4 separate regions of the Homo sapiens genome follow, and all the other regions are linked to region 1. The links are contacts of gene promoters, found by promoter capture Hi-C in blood cells and fetal thymus (Javierre and others, 2016). All regions are on one chromosome and are shown on one strand. Each heading gives the region's core, a stretch centred on a gene start or on the middle of the fragment in contact. The rest is flanking DNA. Distances are from core to core; before and after follow the strand shown.

Region 1 (2,700 bases), core at 89-2,588:
CTCACACCTGTAATTCCAGCACTTTGGGAGGCTGAGGCGGGAGGATCGCTTGCGCCCAGGAGTTTGAGACCAGCCTGGGCAACATGGCAAGACTTCGTCTCTACCAAAAACAAAAACAAATGCAAGGCATGGTGGTGTGCATCTGTAGTTCTAGTTACTGGAGAGGCCTGAAGCAGGAGGATCACCTGAGCCCAGGAGGTTGAAGCTGCAGTGAGCCTCGATCAAGCCAGCCTGGGTGACAGAGTGAGACCCTGTCTCCAAAACAAACAAACAATGTCTACAAATTCTAGCACTGTGTAAATATTATGTCAAATAATTGTATAAATTATTATTAATAAAAATTTCTTTAGGTTTGACAATAATTTGTGGGGTAAATTTTCTCACTTTGTAAAAATTCCAGGGTACCTCTGATTTCTGGTAAATTTAGCCAATCATAAATTAAATGAGTTCTTGGAAGCTCAACAATTCCAAAACCAAAATTGTGAGTCAGTTTGTTCTTTCTTTCCTTCTTTCCTTTCTTTTTCTTTTTCTTTCTTTCTTTCTTTCTTTCTTTTCTTTCTTTCTTTCTTTTCTTTCTCTTTTCTCTTTCTCTTTCTCTCCCTTCCTTCTTTCCTTCCTTCCTGCCTCCCTTCTCTCTCTCTCTCTTTCTCCTTCCTTTTTTTTTTGAGACTGAGTCTTACTCACTCCCTCGCCCACGCTAGAGTGCAGTGGCACAATCTGGGCTCACTGCGCTGCAACTTCCACCTCCCAGGTTCAAGCGGTTTTCCTGCCTCACCCTCCCGAGTAGCTGGGACTACAGGCGTGCACCAGCACACCTGGCTAGTTTTTGTATTTTTAGTAGAGATGGGGTTTCACCATGTTGGCCAGGCTACTCTCGAATCCCTGACCTCAAGTGATCCACCCGCCTTGACCTCCCAAATTGCTGGGATTACAGACGTAAGCCACCACGCCTGGCCCAAAATTATGAGTCTTTTCAAAAATTTTATATCAAAAAGGTGATATTTAATGTGGAATTTGAGTGCATTTAAATAAGATAGTGACTTCGTAGAATAGGGACTGCAGAGTAAGAGTGTTCAGACCCATTCGAGTTTAATATAGCCCTACCTCTAAGAATCCTTTCTGTTCCTCACTCAAATGAACTAATTGCTGTCTTTCAGTTCCTCTAAAAACCTTGGGGTCCGTGGCAGGGTGTGGGCTTAGGACTCACCTGATTACTTGTCTTCCCAGGTGGTCTCTGGGCTCTATCAGGAACAAGCCAGGTATGATCATCCTTTTCCCCAGTCCTTAGCGTGGGGTCTGGTATACACACGCACACACAACTTCAGTAAATGGTGAATGAAACGAAAGGCAGTCAAGATCCACCTGTTGAATGAACGTCTATCAGGAGCACTGTCATCCTTCTTGCTTCCTTCTTTTGCATATGTTGTTTGAGCTGCTCATTCAACCAAGGAGAGAGCATACTCTACCTTGGGCAGTGTGCCAGCCTTGCACAGAGGGACAGATGATTCAGCTTGATCAGGCTGTGACAGAGAAAAGCTCAGGGTCTGAGAGCACACAGGATGCGACTAACCCAGACTGGAGGGTCAGGAGAGTCTCCCCAGGGGAAATGAAGTTGCATCCAGAAGGATTCCTGAGAATAATGATTAGCCTGATGAGAAGCAGAAAGGTTGGGAGTGGAGGGAAGTGGGTTTCTGTGAGAGAAACAATATGGACAAAGGCCCCAGGCAGAGGCAATAGTATTCCAGATAACGAAAAGCATTTTAGAGAGTCTAGTTTAGAATTTGTGAAGGAGGTGACAATGCTGCTAATGAGATTGAAAGGGAGTCAGATTTGTAAACCATTTAAGGATTGTCTTAAGGACAGCCTTGAGGAGACACTGAAGGTTTTAACAGGAGAATGACATGATCCGATTTAAATTTTAAAAAGATAACTCTGTCAACTGTGCCAACAGTGAATTGGATGTGGGCAATGATGAACTCAGGAACAGCTGAGAGTCTATTGCAGAAGCCAAGGTGAGAGATGATGGTGGCTTGGACTTTGGTGCTGGGACTGGAAAGAAATGAACAATCTGATATACAACTGGAAGAATAATCTCTCTGGCTGTGATGTGGAAGGATAAGGACGTGATTGGACAGGCAGGGATGGTTCAGTAACGAGCTAGGACTTTATTGTGAAGGGATAAAGGGGAAGCTTTTAACATTTTAATCATGGGACTGATCCATTCCGATATGGGTTTATATAAATAGACCGCTTGGCGGAGGGTGGTGAGAAGACTGTCAGGCAGTGCACAGGTAAGAACTGAGCCCTAGACGGGGCAGGAGCAATGAATGTGGGGAGGCGCGGGAGACGGGAGATTGGTTTCGGAGCCAGGTACGGAGCCAAGCAGTCAGAGAGAAGCAAAAATTGACGCAGCACCGAGAACAGCTGCTAGTGGAGAGGGGGATGGGCGCCGCCGGAGCCGCCCTCGCCTCCTGGCGCCGGGGGCGGGACCAGAGCACGCACGGCGCGATGACGCAGTGCCCGAGCCGGCCTCGTTCTGGCTGCCGCCGTCTCGCTGAGGCGGAGTAGGATGAGGCCCGCGGCCGTGGCTCCGGCGTCGGCGGGGGCAGCAGCAGCTGAGGCAGCAGCTGAGGCAGCCGCGACGGCCGCGCCCCCCCCCGCTGACCTGGATTAGGCCCAGCAGCTCCGTGGCCGCCGCCG
Region 2 (2,700 bases), core at 179-2,678, 300 kb before region 1:
TCTTACCAGAAGCTACAAATATAATGTAACGCTATACAAATTGTCAGTAATTTACAGTCTACAACTCTTAAAAAGCAAATAACATATATTAGGCAATTTATCGCATAAAGAATTAAGCACCAAGATGCAAATACCTTCTTTTTTCCAAGTAGACTCCAATGATCTATGCCACTCATTTTTTTCATTTAGCTTAACCAAAATGTTAGCAAATTAACATTTATTTAGGGTAATCTGGGGGTGTAGTTAACAAAGCATTTCAAGAGAGGGATATCTTTGAAATGTACTGATAAGTAGTAAAATCATAATGCCAAAGTGGGAAATTCTCAATTACAGCCTGTTAATGACATTTTAATACATCTTGGTTCTTTTGTTTTAAAGAAGAATGGATTCCAAAAGGGCATAATGAGCTAAGCAGGTGACCTCAGGAGAGTTCTTCCAAGTAGGTGTGTTTATACAGCAGCAAAGTTTAGGGTACAGTACTATTCAGGAAGGTATATTGGCAGGAAACAATGTGTAGTGGAAAAAAAGCTCTGACTCAAAGCACAACTAGCTTCAAATGCAGTTTTACCATTTAACTAGCCCTGTGACTTTAGTTATTAACCTCTCTGAGTCTCAGTGTTCTCACTCATACAATGGTAATAACAACAATCTTGCAAAGCTGCTGTAAGGATTAATAATAATGCAGGTGGCCAGGCACAGTGGCTCAAGCCTGTAATCCCAGCACTTTGGGAGGCCAAGGCGGGTGGATCACGAGGTCAGGAGATCGAGACCATCCTGGCTAACACAGTGAAACCCCGTCTCTACTAAAAATACAAAAAATTAGCCAGGCATGGTGGCGGGTGCCTGTAGTCCCAGCTACTCGGGAGGTGGAGCTTGCAATGAGCCGAGATCGTGCCACTGCACTCCAGCCTGGGAGACAGCAAGACTCCGTCTCAAAAAAGAAAAAAAAGTAGGTAAAGCACCAAATAGCCCAATTTTACAATAAGAAAACTAAAGAAGGCAATATAACTTAACTAGGGTTAGAAAGCAGAAAAACTGTGTGCCAGAACTTCTTTATTTTTAGTAATACTCCTTAACTTGAAGTCTTAGTCTAACATTATTAATTAATTACAGCAGATTTGTTATGATTAGTGTCTACATGATATATTGTTTGTCCATCCTTTTATTTACAACCTAGAGAAGCATCTTTATATTCCAGATGCTTCTCTTATACGAAATATAGATCAATATTTAATTTTCATCCAACCTGATGGTCTCTACCTTTTGATTACTATTTACCCTATTTACATTTAATGTAATTACTGATATGGCAGTAGTTTACTGTAAGTTTACTATCTTGGTTCTCAGTTTACTATCTTGGTTCTTTTATTTTGTTTTCAATCTGTTCCAATTGTTTTTCTTATTGTTATAGTTTCTTATCTGCATTGTTTATACTTTCTTATTGTTATACTTTCTTATCTGCATTCTTTAGGGTTGAGCATATGTATTAGTTTGTTTTCACGCTGCTGATAAAGACACACCCAAAACTGGAAACAAAAAGAGGTTTAATTGGACTTACAGTTCCACATAGCTGGGGAAGCCTCAGAATCATGACAGGAGGTGAAAGGCACTTCTTACATGGTGGCAGTGAGAGAAAAATGAGGAAGAAGCAAAAGCAGAAATCCCTGATAAACCTATCAGATCTCAAGAGACTTATTCACTATCACAAGAATAGCACGTGGGTGGGCGCAGTGACTCACACCTGTAATCCCAGCACTTTAGGAGGCTGAGGCGGGTGGATCACGAGATCAGCAGGTTGAGACCATCCTAGCTAACACAGTGAAACCCCATCTCTACTAAAAATACAACAACAACAAAAAAATTAGCCAGGCATAGAGGCAGGCGCCTGTAGTCCCAGCTACTCAGGAGGCTGAAGCAGAATGGCGTGAACCAGGGAGGCAGAGCTTGAAGTAAGCCGAGATCGTGCCACTGCACTCCAGCCTGGGTGACAGAGCAAGACTCTGTCTCAAAAATAAATAAATAAATAATAATAATAATAATAATAATAATAATAATAATAATAGCACATGAAAGACTGACTCCCATGATTCAATTACCTCCCCCCAGGTCCCTCCCACAACATGTGGCAATTCTGGGAATAATAATAATAATAATAGCACATGAAAGACTGACTCCCATGATTCAATTACCTCCCCCCGGGTCCCTCCCACAACATGTGGCAATTCTGGGAGACGAAAATTCAAGTTGAGATTTGGATGGGGACACAGCCAACCATATCATTCCACCCATGGCCCCTCCAAATCTCATGTCCTCACATGTCAAAACCAATCATGCCTTCCCAATAGTCCCCCAAAGCCGTAACTCATTTCAGCATTAACCCAAAAGTCCACAGTCCAAAGTCTCATCTGAGACAAGGCAAGTCCCTTCCACCTATGAGCCTCTAAAATCAAAAGCAAGCTAGTTATTTCCCAGATAAAATGAGGGTACAGGTATTGGGTAAACACAGCCATTCTACATGGGAGAAATTAGCCAAAACAAAGGGGTTACAGGGCCCATTCAAGTGTGAAATCCAGCGGGGCAGTTAAATTTTAAAGCGCCAAAATGATCTCCTTTGACTCCAGGTCTCACATTCAGGTCACACGGATGCAAAAGGTGGGTTCCCATGGTCTTGGGCAGCTCCGCGCCTGTGGCTTTGCAGGG
Region 3 (2,700 bases), core at 109-2,608, 290 kb before region 1:
TCACTGAGCACCTTTTACTAGATACTGTAGGAACAGATGGTTAAGATCCAGACAGTTGTTTCCCCAACAGAGCTGACAGTACGAGAAAGAAACATGTAAATTGATCACTGACAATCTAACATAAGACTCAAAAGAAGAGAGATGTACAAAATAGAAAAGAAACTATTAACCCTAACTGGGTACAAGGTATGAATGTTACAAGCAAAAGGTAGGAGGTGGTTTTTGAAAGAGAAATAGAAACTTTCCAAAGGAACATGAAAAGTAAGGATCCAAAAATGTGAAGTCATGAAACAGCCTAAGCATCAAGCATCAGTATACTGAAATATACTCTGTTAGTCCATTCTTGTGTTGCTATAAAAAAAATCTGAGGCTGGGTAATTTATACAGAAAAGAGGTTTGTTGGCTCATGGTTCTCAAGCTATACAGAAAGCATGGTGCCAGCATCCGCTAGCTTCTGGTGAGGGCCTCAAGGAGCTTACAATCATGGTGTAAGGCAAAGCGGGAGACAGCCTCTCACAGTCAACCCAGACTATCACATGGCAAGAGAGGGAGCCAGACAGAGAGAAAATGGTGAAGATCTCAGACTCTTATTTCTTTTTCTTTTCTTTTTCTTTTTTTTTTTTTTTTGAGGCAGAGTCTTGCTCTGTCGCCCAGGCTGGAGTGCAGTGACGCGATTTCAGCTCACTGCAACCTCTGCCTCCCAGATTCAAGCGATTCTCACGCCTCAGCCTCCCAAGTAGCTGGGACTACAGGTGCACGCCACCATACCCAGCTGTATTTTTAGTAGAGATGGGGTTTCACCATGTTGGCCAGGCTGGTCTTAAACTCCTGACCTCAAGTGATCCACCGGCCTTGGCCTCCCAAAGTGCTGAGATTACAGGTGTGAGACACCACACTTGGCCCTAGACTCTTAAACAATCAGATCTCACGTGAACTAACTGAGCAAGAATTCACTCATCACCAAGGGGATGGTGCTAAGCCATTTATGAGGGATCCACCCCCATGATCCAATATCTACCTCTAGGACCCACCTCCAACTTTGGAGGTCACATTTCAATATAAGATTTGGAAGGGACAAACATCCAAACCATGTCATAAAACGTTTTGCTAAGTCACAGAAATGGAACAGTACTTAAGATCACAAAATCAAAGAATCACAGGAATGGACGGAATTTCAAAAGTCATCTAGCTCAGCAATTCTCAAGTGTAGTCCTTGGATCAGAAGCATCAGCATAACCAGGAAACCTGGTAAAACATGCAAATTTGCAGACCCTACACCAGACCCACTGAGTCAGAAACTCTGAGGTGGGGGTCCAGCAACCTGTGGTTTAACAAGCCCTCCAAATTATTCTGATGCAAACTAAAGTTTGAGAACCATTAGTTTAAATCAGGATTCTCCAATACTGTCAACATTTTGAGCCAGAAAATTCTTTACTATCGGGCGATGCCTGTGCATTATAGAATGTGTAGCAGCATCGTTTGCTTCTGTGCACTAAATGCTAGTAGCAGCCCGAAGCTGTGACAACCAAAGTGTTTCCAGACATTGCCCAATGTCCCCTGGGGGACAGAAATCACCCTTGGTTGAAAACCACTGATCTAGATCAAGGATCAGCAAACTCTCCTAAAAGGAGCAGGGTAAATATTTTAGGCTTTGCAGGACATGCAGTCAACTACTCAACTCTGCTATTAAGGACAAAAATAACCAGAGACAACATGTAAACATACGTGCACGACTATATTCCAGTAAGACTTTATTTACAAAAAAAGGTGGTGGTTTGGCCCTCAGGCTGTAATATTCTGACCCCTAATCTAGGTCAGTTATCTGAATTACAATTGATTGTCCTCAGTCCCACGGCTGCCAAGTGATTCTCTGGATTCTATTTGGCCTGACCTAGTCCAGTCTTCTGCTTACAGGTACATATAGCTCTACACAGATTACCATTCTTTTTTTTTCGAGACAGGGTCTCTCTGTCACCCACCCAGGCTGGTGTGCAGCGGTGCAATCATATCCTCTTACCTCAGCCTCCTGAGTAGCTAGGACTACAAGCACATGCTATCACACCCAGCTAATTTAAAAAAAAAAAATTTATTTTTTTTTGTAGAGACACGATCTTGTTATGTTGCCCAAGCTGATCTCAAACTCCTGGCCTCAAGTGATCCCGTGCCTCTTCTTCTCAAAGTGCTGGGAATACAGGTGGGAGCCACCACACCTGTCCCAGATCACCATTTTATAGACTGAATAAATGAAGCCTACAAAAGGCAAATGACTTTCTCAAAGAACCACAGCTAAGAAAACCTAAAACAAAACAAAAAGACAACAGCTACAGCCAGTCTACCTAAGTACAATGTTCTAACAACTGCCCCTTATGGAGGTGTAACCACATATTGCCACCTAGCAGGCATTCAAACACTCCAGCCCTCTGAATTTACTAAAACCTAGAAAAGTACTGATTTCATGGGGGGAGCGGAGAAATAACTTTACCTTAAATGCCCAGACAGTAAATATTTTAGGCTTGTAAGGCCATTAAAATCTCTGTCTCAACTACTCATCTCTGTCACTCTAGCAAGAAAACCACCACAGATAAAGGTAAATGAACGGGTATGGCTGTGTTGCAATAAATCCTTATTTATAAAAACAGGCAGCTGGCCTGCAAGATATAGTTTGCTGACCCCTGATCTACAAGGTCCATAAAACCAGTC
Region 4 (2,700 bases), core at 74-2,573, 320 kb before region 1:
GTGCCAAGATGTTGCCACTACACTCCAGCCTGGGCAACAGAGTGAGACTCTGTCTCCAAAAAAACTATTTCTCCCATGAATGGGTAAAATAGCCATAAAATTTGTACTTGGGCCAGGCATGGTGCCTCACGCCTGTAATCCCAGCACTTTGGGAGGCCAAGGTCGGTGGATCACTTGAGCTCAAGAGTTCAAGACCAGCCTGGGCAACATGACGAAACCCCATGTCTACAAAAAACATACAGAAAAATCAATCAGGCATGGTGGCATGCCCCTGTAGTCCCAGCTACTCAGGAGTCTGAGGTGGGAGAAACGCTTGAGCCTGGGAGGTCAAGGTTACAGTGAGCCGAGATCTCACCACTGCACTCTAGCCTAGGTGGCAGGGTAAGACACTATCTCAAAAAAAAAAAAAGGCAGAGTATTTAGAGGACCTGACGCACAACGAAGCACACTATTATTGTCAGTGCTTCAATGGTGACAACAACATCATTTCAAAAATACCACCAACTTCAAAATTATGGAGAGAGAAGGGCTTGAGCTGCCGCTAGACAAGTCACTATTACAGAAAGCACAGGAGACAGGAATGGTGTATTAAAGTGTTTACGGTGTTGTCCTCATCCTTCCTACATCAGATTTACCTGAGATGCTTGTTTAAAATACAGGTTTTTAGACTCTGTCTCAGACTACTGAATCAGACTTTCTAGAAGTAGGATTCTAGAATCTACATTTTACAGAGTATCTTGGGTGATTCTTACATTGATTAAAGTTTGAGAAGCACGAGTATAGTGGAAAAGGAGCCTTGCCCACCACCTGCCCCATCTAGGTGGTGGTATTCTTAGAAAACCACTTTAACTCAGTGCAGAAGTTTTAGTGTTGTTAAAAAGATGATTGAATTATACTAAACCTTACTAAGCTTAGTGTGTTGTTCTTTTTAACATCATTACTCTGGTTATCACAACCTACACAGATGCTTGAATTGGCAGTGTGTACTCAGAAAAATCATGTCTCTCTACTGTTTCCCAAAAGAAGTTGCCACATGACTCTACACTATGCAATCTACTCACATGTTTATAAATGCTTATAAATGCCAGTGCCACAGTGTAGGTGCATGCACATTTTGTCAAACAGCGGTTTAGTATTTGAAAATATCAATCAATTGCTTACCCATTCTCAGTTTCTTAAATAACTTTTCTTTAAAAGTTTTTGTTAAAACTTAAATTTAAAAAAAAGATGAAGTGTAGAAGCCACACCAAAACTGAATTCTGATAAACTATGTTTCATACAACATTCCCTTCATATAACAAGTTATGCATACATTCAACTCAACTAACAGAAATGAACCAGCCAGTTAGTGAATTGGGGCATTCAAGCCTTAAAAAGCCTTAAACATTTTGGTGCTGCATTTTTTAAAGCACCTCTAAAAACACTTATAAAAATGCTCTGTCACTTATTATAGCACTTACTACACAGTTTTATAATTGCCTGTTTGTGTGTCTCTCTTCCCCACTGTACTATACATGGCATGAGTGCAGGGATTATGACTATCATGGTCAGTGTTATAACCCAATACATAGCAAACTGCCTGGGACACAGTAGATTGTTCAATTAATACTTGTTAAAAGGATGAATGGATCGACTTTATACAAATACATTTCTTTTGCACTGCTCAGATATTTTAAACACATTAATTCATAATTGCCTCATCATCCGTACAAGAGAAGGTACACCAATAAGAAAATACAAGCTTAAAGAGATCAAGTGGCATGTGCAACTTACTCAGCTACTTGGTGGCAGAACCAGAATCTGAATCTAAAGCCACAACACCAAAGGGCTGAATCTATCCATTAGAGACCTTGCAGATTTCTTCAAGATGTTAACATCAAAAAAGGAAGAGAATCTGTATCACAGTTTTACAAAGACTTGAATTGTTTTCAAATTTCATCAAGAGTAAACTGTCAGCAACAGCAGATAATTATCAATCAAAATAATGACAATAATATATGTCTTAATGAGTTTCTAACAGAAGTAGTCTGTACACATTATATTGGGGGAAAAAATGAGAAGGAAAGAATTTGTCTATTACTTTCCAAAAGACTAAAGATATCGTAAAGATACTAAAAAATAGTACTGATGGAACTGATGGATGAATATCCAAACAGCAGAAATAGAGCAGGAAGAACTTCCTAGACTTACTATGGCCTGAGTAAACCATCCCCCAAACCAATGCAGGTAATTTGTTCTGTTTCCATGCTCACCAATCCATGTTCTGATGACCAAATTGGTTTTTCAGGTATCCTACCAGGAAGAAGATGCTCTGAATAATGATTACAAGTCCTGTGGTCAATGTAAAAATGTCTATCTCTTTGTAAATTAATATTCCACACAACAGATCAATCTCCTGTATATCTGTTACTCTGAATCTATTTACCAGAACATTAACACTGATGGATGACAGAAAAAAATCAAATATTTAAGTCTGCAAAGCAAAGGACGAGACCATGGATTCCTGATGACTCAGCCAAACTCTTATTTTTTCAGCCACATTTCACAGAAATATCAGAACCTGGTATTAACAGCTATGATTTAATTTTAGCAGTGTTTTAAAGTTAGATCTTCTCCATTCATCAAATACACCAAAGAGGAAATTTGGTTTATGATACCAAAGGCATGTAAATAAGTATACAAAACTATATAGGCCAGTAA

Evidence for each region. Contacts are between HindIII fragments. The CHiCAGO score rates a contact against its expected background, and 5 or more counts as called.
Region 2: a contact is called between a fragment that was not itself captured here and the fragment with the promoter of LINC01562 in region 1, in 5 of 17 cell types (naive CD8 T cells, naive CD4 T cells, total CD8 T cells and 2 more). The highest score is 8.8, in naive CD8 T cells.
Region 3: a fragment that was not itself captured here is called in contact with the fragment with the promoter of LINC01562 in region 1 in 2 of 17 cell types (naive CD8 T cells and naive CD4 T cells); the score reaches 6.0 in naive CD8 T cells.
Region 4: a fragment that was not itself captured here is called in contact with the fragment with the promoter of LINC01562 in region 1 in 3 of 17 cell types (M1 macrophages, naive CD4 T cells and M2 macrophages); the score reaches 5.6 in M1 macrophages.

What each region holds. Positions count from the first base shown.
Region 1 is chr1:51,233,758-51,236,457 of GRCh38, forward strand. LINC01562 (long intergenic non-protein coding RNA 1562) reads right to left here and starts at 1,339. Exons shown (of 2, transcript NR_147076.1): 1 at 1,208-1,339. RNF11 (ring finger protein 11) reads left to right here and starts at 2,516. Exons shown (of 3, transcript NM_014372.5): 1 at 2,516-2,700. RefSeq lists a silencer at 2,301-2,700. The HindIII fragment of the contact is 11,293 bases long and covers 1-2,188 here.
Region 2 is chr1:50,929,867-50,932,566 of GRCh38, forward strand. All of the region lies in intron 1 of FAF1 (Fas associated factor 1), which reads right to left. Among named protein-coding and RNA genes, the nearest start is that of FAF1, 29 kb to the right of the region's middle. The HindIII fragment of the contact is 7,482 bases long and covers 1-2,700 here.
Region 3 is chr1:50,947,924-50,950,623 of GRCh38, forward strand. All of the region lies in intron 1 of FAF1 (Fas associated factor 1), which reads right to left. Among named protein-coding and RNA genes, the nearest start is that of FAF1, 11 kb to the right of the region's middle. The HindIII fragment of the contact is 4,104 bases long and covers 1-2,700 here.
Region 4 is chr1:50,911,641-50,914,340 of GRCh38, forward strand. The region is part of intron 1 of FAF1 (Fas associated factor 1); the gene reads right to left. Among named protein-coding and RNA genes, the nearest start is that of FAF1, 47 kb to the right of the region's middle. The HindIII fragment of the contact is 831 bases long and covers 909-1,739 here.